3 separate regions of the Homo sapiens genome follow, and regions 2 and 3 are each linked to region 1. Evidence: promoter capture Hi-C in 16 types of primary human blood cells and fetal thymus (Javierre and others, 2016). All regions are on one chromosome and are shown on one strand. Each heading gives the region's core, a stretch centred on a gene start or on the middle of the fragment in contact. The rest is flanking DNA. Distances are from core to core; before and after follow the strand shown.

What was found. Contacts are between HindIII fragments. The CHiCAGO score rates a contact against its expected background, and 5 or more counts as called.
Region 2: a fragment that was not itself captured here is called in contact with the fragment with the promoter of C3orf33 in region 1 in 1 of 17 cell types (total CD4 T cells); the score reaches 6.7 in total CD4 T cells.
Region 3: a contact is called between a fragment that was not itself captured here and the fragment with the promoter of C3orf33 in region 1, in 2 of 17 cell types (activated CD4 T cells and total CD4 T cells). The highest score is 5.7, in activated CD4 T cells.

The regions. Positions count from the first base shown.
Region 1 is chr3:155,804,239-155,807,882 of GRCh38, forward strand. C3orf33 (chromosome 3 open reading frame 33) reads right to left here and starts at 2,040. Exons shown (of 5, transcript NM_001308229.2): 1 at 1,901-2,040. The coding sequence starts at 2,014. RefSeq lists a silencer at 1,975-2,324. The HindIII fragment of the contact is 11,000 bases long and covers 1-3,644 here.
Region 2 is chr3:157,176,965-157,180,476 of GRCh38, forward strand. All of the region lies in intron 2 of LOC101928236 (a long non-coding RNA gene), which reads left to right. Among named protein-coding and RNA genes, the nearest start is that of CCNL1, 19 kb to the left of the region's middle. RefSeq lists an enhancer at 919-1,420. The HindIII fragment of the contact is 2,080 bases long and covers 823-2,902 here.
Region 3 is chr3:154,294,598-154,298,231 of GRCh38, forward strand. DHX36 (DEAH-box helicase 36) reads right to left here. Exons shown (of 25, transcript NM_020865.3): 13 at 687-742. Among named protein-coding and RNA genes, the nearest start is that of DHX36, 28 kb to the right of the region's middle. The HindIII fragment of the contact is 1,727 bases long and covers 637-2,363 here.

The DNA of each region.
Region 1 (3,644 bases), core at 790-3,289:
GATTGGATTATTTGTAATATTATAACTATGTTCTAATTTACACAACTTCCTCCCATAATCCTTCTGAAGTCATTTTTTAATTTGAAATAACCCATGCATCTATTACTGCTTAACTGGAAGAAATGAGTTTTCACCAATTAACACATATATTATTTACCATTCAATGATGCTACAAATATTTATCTAGCACTTACTAAGTAGCAGGCATTACTCTAAGAACTGGGGCTACAATGATGAGTGAAAACAGGCATGGCTTTGGACTTTGTGCTGCTTGGCTGTAGAGCATTTGCAAAGTTATCTTACTCAACTTTCCAGTATTATTTTTTAAAGTTAATGATTCCTTCTGAAAACATTTTCTTCACTTGGCTTCTAGAACACCTGGCTGTCTTGACTTTTTTACTACCTCACTGTCTGCTTCTTCTTAGTCTTTGCTGACCTCCTCTTTACTCCCCAGATTCTCAATGTTATAATCCCCCAAATTCTAGGGCTTCTTCAGTAGCTTTTCTCACTTGCTCTGAGATGTTATTCAAGCCCACGGCTTTAAATGCTACTTAAGGTTTATGCAGGTCATTCCCAATGTTCTATGTCAGGTTCTGATCTCCCTTCAACACCGGACCCCATATCCAGTTGCCAAGGACAGCATCTACAATTCTGCTTAGAAGTCTAATAATGATCTCCAAATTTGCACATCTCCATGTACGTGTCCAAAAAGTTCTCTAGATTTTCCCCAATAAATCATTTATTCCAACTCCTTCTCCTTATCAGCAACTATTACCAGCCTCCTTGGACCTCTTTCTTTGTACCTCACACCCAAACAATTCATATCACCACAATTCTGTGTCTTAGCCACAACCCTCTCTTGCCTGGTGGCCTAACATGTCCCTCTCTTGCTTCAACTCCAGAGGCTTAGTGCTTCACTTAAAAAAAAAAAAAAAAAAAAAGGCAGGGCACCAGTGGCTGATGCCTACAATCCCAGTGCTTTGGGAGGCCGAGGCGGGCAGATCTCTTGAGACCAGGAGTTCAAGGCCAGCCTGGGCAACACAGGAAGACCTTGCCTCTACAAACAAAAAACAAATTAGCCTGGTGTGGTGACAAGTGCCTGTAGCCCTAGCTACTCGGGAGCCTGAGGTGGGAGGATTGCTTAAGCCCAGGAAGTGGAGACTGCAACGAGACATAATGGTGCCACTGCACTCCAGGCGTGACAGAGGGAGACCCTGTCTCAAAAAAAAGAAATCTATTCGGGAGGCTGAGGTGGGAGATCACTTGAGGCCAGGAGTTGGAGGACAGCCTGGACAACATAGCAAGACTCCCAGTCTCTAACTCTAAAAGAAAGTAGTCGATGGGGTAGCGCACGCAACCTGTGGTTCCAGCTACTCGGGAGGCTGAAGTGGGAGGATCTTTTCGGCCGAAGTGGGTGGAGCAGCAGCAGTGAGCTATGATCGTGCCACTGCACTCCAGCTTGGGCCAGAGAGGAATACCGTGTCCCTAAAAAATAAAATTAAAAATAAATAAAAATTAGAAATGCTCTCTCCCAAGGCGTACAGGACTTCCCTGCTCTTCCTCGGTCTCCTCTCTGGGCCCTCCCCAAATGCTCTAATGGACCAGGTGGCATCCCCGAGCTGGGCTGCGTCTCACCCTTTGAGGTGCCCCCTACAGCCCAGCAAGGATCCAGAACAGTCCTTGTAATAATGAGGCCGAACTGGCCCCCTGGCCCGCCCCCGGCCCTCTGCAGCCCCGCACACACGACACTCGCGATGTCGCCCTCTCGAGCTCATTCCCCCGCAGTTTTCTGTCGCTCCCCGGCCCCGGCGGGATCCACGCCTGAGGCCTCACGTTGTTCTCAGGGTCGCTCTGTGCCGCCCCGCGCCCACCACCCGCCCAGACTGCGTGGCCCCAGTACCCGGACTAGGCGCAGGTGGTCGTCTGCCCACTGCGAGATCCGAGCCACGACGTTGGGCTCCATTCCGTCCTTGTCGGCAGACGGCGAGCCGGTGGCCGCGGGCTGCCCCGCCATGTTCCCGGCCTCCTGCGAGCGGCCCTGAGCTCCTCCGGCTGGCGGCAGGGGGCGCCGCTCACCTCGGGAAGGCGGCGGGGTCCCCTTCCCCGCGGACCGGGGTGGCCCCGCGACCTGCAGTCGCCAGTGGGCGGGCCCCAGATATCAGACGTCTTAACAGTGCCCCAACCGCTTTTATGCAGGGTGATTCCACGATGCAGGAGATCTCTGAGCAGCACTGTGGGGGCTGAAGCATTCCCTATCAAGCTAGTAGGATGATTGTCAGCTGGTGACTTCAATTCACTCAGCTGCAACGTGGTTTTCGCAGGTGCCACACAAGGAAGGAAATTGAAGTAATTCATTCCTTCCACCTGCTCCCAAGGAACAGCATATGCATATTTTTTAACCAAATACGACCTGTCCTTGAAACCTATGCATATTTCTTATATTCAAATTGTGCTTTAAAGTTTTAAGAGCTGCTCTGAAAGCCTAATATCACATGCTCTAAATCTTTGAGCTGTTAGAAAACAGTAGTTAATACATTTTAAATAAAACAAAAATTAGATACAGAGCAGTGCAAATAATATGGTAACATTTATGTAATAAAAATATATATTGAGGCCGGGTGTGGTGGCTCCTGCCTGTAATACCAACACTTTGGGAGGCCGAGGCGGGCGGATTACTTGAGGTCAGGGGTTCGAGACCAGCCTGGCCCACATGGCGAAATTCCGTCTCTACTGAAAATACAAAAATTAGCTGAACCTGGTGGTATGCGCCTATAATCCCAGCTACTCAAGAGGCTGAGGCAGGAGAATCGCTTGAACCTGGGAAGCGGAGGTTGCAGTGAGCCAAGATCGTGCCACTACACTCCAGCCTGGGTAACAGAGCAAGACTCCATCTAAAAAAATAAATAAATACTAAATACTATACAAGAAACTAGTAACAGTGACTACCCCGGGAAACGGAAGGTAGGAAAGGGCAAGAGGTTTCACAATCTGCCACCTCTAATAAACATTTTTCAGTGATAGAAATGTCCTGTAGCTTCATGTGGGTATTGCCTGCATGAAATGTGGCTACTGAAATCAAGGAACTGAATTTTTAACTTTATTAATTTTAATTAATTTAGTCACATATGGCTAGTGGCTATTATATTGGAGAGTGCAATTATACTACTGGAGTTTTTTTTTTTTTTTTACTTTATGCAAATATTACCTTTAAAAGTCAAAACAGACTATGTTGTATTCCTAACAATACATATTATGAGTGGTGGCTTCAAGGAGTGTATTGTCTCTGTGTTATAGCCAATAGAAAGTAAATAACAGCCGGGCGTGGTGGCTTACGCCTGTAATCCCAGCACTTTGGGAGGCTGAGGAGGTTGAATCATGAGATCAGGAGATCGAGACCATCCTGGCTAACACAGTGAAACCCCATCTCTACTAAAAATACAAAAAATTAGCCAGTCGTGGTGGCATGCGCCTGTAGTCCCAGCTACTCAGGAGACTGAGGCAGAAGAATCGCTTGAACCCAGGAGGCAGAGGTTGCAGTGAACCAAGATCGCACCACTGCACTCCAGCCTGGGCCACAGAGCAAGACTCTTGTCTCAATAAAAAGAAAAGACAAGAAAGTAAGTAAATAAGAATCGTTGACACTT
Region 2 (3,512 bases), core at 613-3,112, 1.4 Mb after region 1:
ATGAATAATATAATTTACTATAATATAACAACCGACCAAAGTGTGCTGTTTTATTACCAATTTCTCTCTCTCTCTCTCTCTCTCTTTCTTTTGTGACAGAGTCTCGCTCTGTTGCCCAAGCTGGGGTGCAGTGGTGAGGTCTCGGCTGACTGCAACGTCCGCCTCCCAGGTTCAAGCGATTCTAACTGCGTCAGACTCCCCAGTAGCTGTGACTACAGGCAGGCGCCACTACACCTGGCTAATTTTTGTATTTTTAGTAGAGATGGGGGCTCACCATGTTGGTCAGGCTGGTCCCAAATTCCTTGCCTCAAGTGATTTGCCCGCCTCGGCCTCCCAAAGTGTTGGGATTACAGGTGTGAGCCACTGTGCCCACCCCAATTTGCTTCTTTGGTGTTTGTAATTCTGCTTGGTCAACCGTAACTTGCAGAAATTGATTGGAACATATATTTTGATAAAGTATTTGAAGGTATTCCTGAAGTTTGATTTATGTTTCAGCTGCCTATACTGAAAGAAAATAAACTGCTGTGTATTCCATAATTTAAAAATAATTGTTCACTTTAGTGACATTTTGTAGTTGGATAGTGGAGACAAAAGATGATACTCTCTGTGATCTTCAATCTAAACATTTATGTTAGGACAAATTATTCCCATATCTGTATAATGCTATATTTCTTCCCTGACCTCTACAAATCACAGAAGCACCGTTATTCGATCTTGTTCTCTTTTTCAAAAAATTCTACCTTCCAAGGTGGTGGTTCTTTAAGTTTATAAGTGAACCATAAAGTAGTTGGAAACCTGGATCCCAGGATGGTAGAAACATGAAGCTTGTTTATTCCAAGGACAGTTTTATATATGTATAGGACTTTATTATCCTTACTATATACAGCATTTTAATGGGGAGGGGGAACCAGGAGCATTGTTGGGGGTTAATTTAATTTTTGTAGTTTTAAAATACAAACGAATGATTGTATCAGTCTTTTTTTTTTTGTATTTATTGATCATTCTTGGGTGTTTCTCAGAGAGGGGGTTGTGGCAGGGTCATAGGATAATAGTGGAGAGAAGGTCAGCAGATAAACACGTGAACAAAGGTCTCTGGTTTTCCTAGGCAGAGGTCCTTGTGGCCTTCCGCAGTGTTTGTGTCCCTGGGTACTTGAGATTAGGGAGTGGTGATGACTCTTAACGAGCATGCTGCCTTCAAGCATCTGTTTAACAAAGCACATCTTGCACCGCCCTTAATCCATTTAACCCTGAGTTGACACAGCACATGTTTCAGAGAGCACAGGGTTGGGGGTAAGGTTATAGATTAACAGTGTCCCAAGGCAGAAGAATTTTTCTTAGTACTGAACAAAATGGAGTCACCTATGTCTACTTCTTTCTACACAGACACAGTAAAAATCTCATCTCTCCTTCTTTTCCCTACATTTCCTCCTTTTCTTTTCGACAAAACCGCCATCGTCATCATGGCCCTTTCTTGATGGTCGCTGTCTCTTCAGAGCTGTTGGGTACACCTCACAGACGGGGTGGCTGGGCAAAGGTGCTCCTCACTTCCCAGACGGGGCGGCCGGACAGAGGCGCTCCTCACATCCCATACGGGGCGGCTGGGCAGAGACACTCCTCACTTCCCAGACGGGGCGGCCGGGCAGAGGCGCTCCTCACTTCCCAGACGGGGTGGCCGGGCAGAGGTGCTCCTCACTTCCCAGATGATGGGCGGCCGGGCAGAGGCGCTCCTCACCTCCCAGACGGGGCAGCAGGGCAGAGGCGCTCCTCACCTCACAGATGGGGCGGCTGGGCAGAGGTGCTCGCTTCCTAGATGGGGCGGCTGGGCAGAGGCGCTCCTCACCTCCCAGAAGAAGGGCGGCTGGGCAGAGGCGCTCCTCACATCCCAGATGATGGGTGGCCGGGCAGAGGCGCTCCTCACCTCCCAGACGGGGCGGCCAGGCAGAGGCGCTCCTCACATCCCAGATGATCGGCGGCCGGGCAGAGGCGCTCCTCACTTCCCAGATGATGGGCGGCCAGGCAGAGGTGCTCCTCACATCCCAGACGATGGGCGGCCGGGCAGAGGCGCTCCTCACTTCCCAGATGATGGGCAGCCGGGCAGAGGTGCTCCTCAGCTCCCAGATGGGGTGGCTGGGCAGAGACGCTCCTCACCTCCCAGACGAAGGGTGGCCGGGCAGAGGCACTCGCTTCCTAGATGGGGTGGCTGGGCAGAGACGCTCCTCACCTCCCAGACAAAGGGCGGCCGGGCAGAGGCGCTCGCTTCCTAGACGGGGCGGCTGGGCAGAGGCTCTCCTTACCTCCCAGACGATGGGCGGCTGGGCAGAGGCGCTCCTCACTTCCCAGATGATGGGCGGCCGGGCAGAGGTGCTCCTCAGCTCCCAGATGGGGTGGCTGGGCAGAGACGCTCCTCACCTCCCAGACGAAGGGTGGCCGGGCAGAGGCGCTCGCTTCCTAGATGGGGTGGCTGGGCAGAGACGCTCCTCACCTCCCAAAGGGCGGCCGGGCAGAGGCGCTCGCTTCCTAGACGGGGCGGCCGGGCAGAGGCGCTCCTCACCTCCCAGACGAAGGGCAGCCAGGCAGAGGTGCTCCTCACATCCCAGATGATGGGCGGCCAGGCAGAGGTGCTCCTCACCTCCCAGATGGGGAGGCCGGGCAGAGGCATTCCTCACATCCCAGATGATGGGCGGCCGGGCAGAGGCGCTCCTCACTTACGAGACGGGGCAGCCGGGCAGAAGCGCTCCTCATTTCCCAGACGGGGCAGCCGGGTAGAAGCGCTCCTCACTTCCCAGACGGGGTGTATCAGTCTTTAAAATCAGCAATAATGTTACACTGCTAGAACTTTAGAACATACAGACATGAAATAATATCCTCACCAGAAAAGTACTAACCAACTCTGTTACTGAGAAGCTTGAGAAAACATTTTAACAACATCTGCACTCAGGGATAAAATTTGAAATGAGAGTTCAAAGGACAAGATTTATTAACCTTATCTTTCTGTCTTACAATGAACACAGAAGCTCTCATAATTAAGCAATTTGAACAGAAAGATTAGCAAGGGATTGGTCTTTGTATGTTTAATTACTCTGAAGTTATAATGGAAAACCTCTCATGGGACAACATGTATTTACATGTTTGCAAATAATGCTTTGCTTTACATTATGTAGAAAATATTTTATTCCAGAGTATTGTGAACTTTCAAACATCTATTCTGTAGATGATTGAAATATTTTGGATAATTAATCTCAATTCATATTGATACAAATATCTTTGACTCTCATACTCTGTTGCAGTTACTATTGCTACATAGCAAATTGGCCCAAATTAAGCATCTTGAAACAACCATTTCTTATGTTCATGAATTTTGGGGAAATTCACATCAGACACGGAAGGAATAATCCCTGCTTCTTGTGGTGTCAGGTCTCATCTCTTAAGCCGGGCTGGCTTAAAGACTAGAATTGCTGATGGGAACACTCACACCTGGCTGCCTTATGTGATTTGGTTTCCTTACAGCTAGT
Region 3 (3,634 bases), core at 250-2,749, 1.5 Mb before region 1:
TGTACTCTGTATCTAATTCATGACTAAGGTACCAGCAACAAAAATATTAAAAGGGTCTCAAAGAAAAGTATCTTGATATTTTCTTATAAAAAGAGAAAAGGATAAACTAGAAATGGGGGGAGGAGCAGGTTTTCTAATCAATTTCATTTTGCAAGAGCCTGCAAATACTGTAGATCATAACATTATCCTGCCTCTGAGAATGTAGTGTTCACTCTAATTAGGAAAGCGCCTGTATCTGATGGAGCCAAACATTCATAATACATTATTAAAACAGAAATTTTATACCTGTGAATATACTAGCTTTGTGAAATTAAATCTCAAATCATCATCAAACTGTAGTATGTCACAGATCATTAATTTCTAGGTTTGGTTACTTTTAGTAGTACTCACAGACCTTTTTCTCTTACTCAGGAAACTCAACGAAGTTACTGGTGAAACCAATTCTTTAAACTTTTTCCTAATGTAGACAAAACTAATCTGATTTGTGGGTTATCCGCTGATATTCAAGTTTTTGAGCAATCATCCCCTGAAGACTCATTTGCAAAGGTTCTCAAAGAAGTATTTTTTTACATGAATTACTATTTGAAAATACTCCTTAAAAAAAATAAAGGAAAACACGTAACAAGCAGTCCTTAAAGCTTGCCTCAGTTTGAAATACATTTAACAAATGTATCCATTTAACATACCTGTGTCTGGTTAACTGTAGGCATCAGTGAATGTAAAGGTATAATTAAAAATTTATCTGAAAATTAAAGAGAATTAAATTTTAAGATAAAGAGTTGCAGAAAAGCTCCATCAAACACATATGAGACAATGAATTCAGAAGCTGAACCACTCAATTCTTTTTTTGATAAGACATTGAACATTATTTAATGAAAACAGCTAAACCATCTGAGTTGACAAACTGCCCATGTGTTTAAGTGAACCAAAAATTCTTTATTTTTATTTCTACATACAAACAGACCAACTTAATTTCTTTATAGTCTTGTTTTCTGAGCGCTCCAAGTTCAAGCTAACATTTTGTTCTGTTAGTTTATTTCATATTGATAAGTATTTTCCCCAAATTCTTAAAGAATGCTCAAAAGTTGGGAGTAATCTTTTCAAATTACACCAATAAAAACTGAATGAATAGGCAACAATTCTGTTTAACATGAATACGTTTGTACACTTTGGGTGATCCTATTTTTTTGTTGTTCAGTCAGGGTCTCATTCTGTTGCCCGTTGCTGTGGTGTGATCTCTGCTCACTGCAACCTCTGCCCCCTGGGCTCAAGTGATCCTCCCACCTCAGCCTCCCGAGTAGCTGAGACCACAGGCATGCACAACCATGTTTGGCTAATTTTTGTATTTTTTGTAGAGATGGGGATTTGCCATGTTGCCCAGGCTGGTCTTGAACTCCCAAGCTCAAGCAATCCACCCACCTCAGCCTTCCGAAGTACTGGGATTACAGATTACAGGCATGAGCCCTGCACCTGGCAATCCTCACTATTTTAATCAAACCGATAATATCTAAATTTTTAGAGCAAATTACTTATTAAATACCCATGTCCTAGTTAGAAAATAATGAAATAGTCCTTGTTAAAAATAATACATTCCAGGCCAGGCGCGGTGGCTCATGCCTGTAATCCCAGCACTTTGGGAGGCCGAGGCGGGCGGATCACGAGGTCAGGAGATCAAGACCATCCTGGCTAACACGGTGAAACCCCGTCTATACTAAAAATACAAAAACTTAGCTGGGCGTGTTGGCGGGCGCCTGTAGTCCCAGCTACCTGGGAGGCTGAGGCAGGAGAATGGCGTGAACCTGGGAGGCGGAGCTTGCAGTGAGCCGAGATCGCGCCACTGCACTCCAGCCTAGGTGACAGAGCGAGACTCCGTCTCAAAAATAATAATAATAATAATAATAATACATTCCAAAAGTGACCCACATTTTACACATATTTTGTTAAAAATATAAGAAATTCCTACTTTTTAAGTTTCCAAATGAAATAGCTCAAGCCCATTCACAATTATTAGCCAACACAGAAAGTCTGGTGTAATACAGTGATGGGTGAAAGGGAGAGTATCAAGAAAGCAAGAGTTAATTTCACATTTAACTATGCTTACAAAAATACAATCTGACTTAAATGCCCAAATGATTCAAGTCAGCTATACTTCCCCAGAAAAGAACTGTTGTTATCTAAAGGATATGATGATCCCCATGGACTCTGACTGTGAAGAGATTTTACGAATCTTAAAAATAAAAAGTAGTGAACAGCTGCCAAGCAACTGATGTTGCTAAAAAAGAATCCTCTGAATTACTTGTCTCTGTGACAGTATGAAATATTACAACTATAATATTCAAGCCAAAAATACTTGAATTGAATCAAGCTTTCAGATATAACTTTCGAGTTACAGGAAATAAAGGTAAGAGAGAATCAAATGAAATGATAGCATAAAGAGTCACACAAATTCAGAAAGTTGGACTTATTAGAGAACAAATGGCCTGGTCTTTTCCATGACTTTACATTACCATGAGGAAAAGCAGGGAGTGGAGGGGAGCAATGTTCTAGAGCTAGATCAAAAGATGTTGACACTTTCTATAGTTTGAACAGGCTAGTTGTGAAAGACACTTTTCAGAAAAATGGGAAAATCTGATTACAGACTGGATTATCAGATGGTATTAAGGATTAGGTATGATAAAGACATGATGGTTATATAGAAAATTGCCTTTAGAGATTCTTGCTTATACATTTAGAAATGAAATGTGACAGCTGCAATTGACTTTAAGAAAAAACTAGGACTGAAAAAATAATTGTTGGCACTGAAGTCGTGGATTCATTAAGATTCTCTAGTTTTGGCTGGGTGCAGTGGCTCACGCCCGCAATCCCAGCACTTTGAGAGGCCAAGGCAGGTGGATTACAAGGTCAGGAGTTCAAGACCAACCTGGCTAAGATGGTGAAACCCTGTCTCTACTAAAAATACAAAAATTACCCAGGTGTGGTGATGGGTGCCTATAATCCCAGCTACTCGGGAGGCTGAGGCAGGGAACTGCTTGAACCTGGGAGGCGGAGGTTGCAGTGAGCTGAGATCGTGCCACTGCACTCCAGCCTGGGAAACAGAGCGAGACTCCACCTCAAAAAAAAAAAAAAAGTCTCTAGTTTTTTTGTATATTTAAAATGTTTCATTATAAAAAGTTTAAAAGTTAGCCAGGGATAATAAAAGTAAAAACAATTCTGTTGAAGACTATATAATTGGGAAAAAAAATTTATATTGTTGACACCATACAACTAAGAGAGTTAATGAGAACAAAATCTATACTCTTATGAAAAGAAAAAAACAAGAAATTGATAAGCATTTAATAAACTGAGTTTCAAAACTCAATTTCTCAGCACAGAGTTAGGCCAATTTTCTCCCCATGATAGTGGTTAACTATACAACTGATTATCAAGGCTAAATTTTTTTCAACATAATTTGAGAAAAAACACTCAAGTTCTGGAAAGATTTCCTTTAAAAGGAATTGAGCTGGTAGTGGAAGTGTATACATTAGCAACTCTTTCCTTGAGAATAATTAATTCAAACTAGAAAGTTAACGAAGTCAATTATAATAATCTATAATATACCCTTTTCCCACTCTCCATCACATACACTAAATGATAA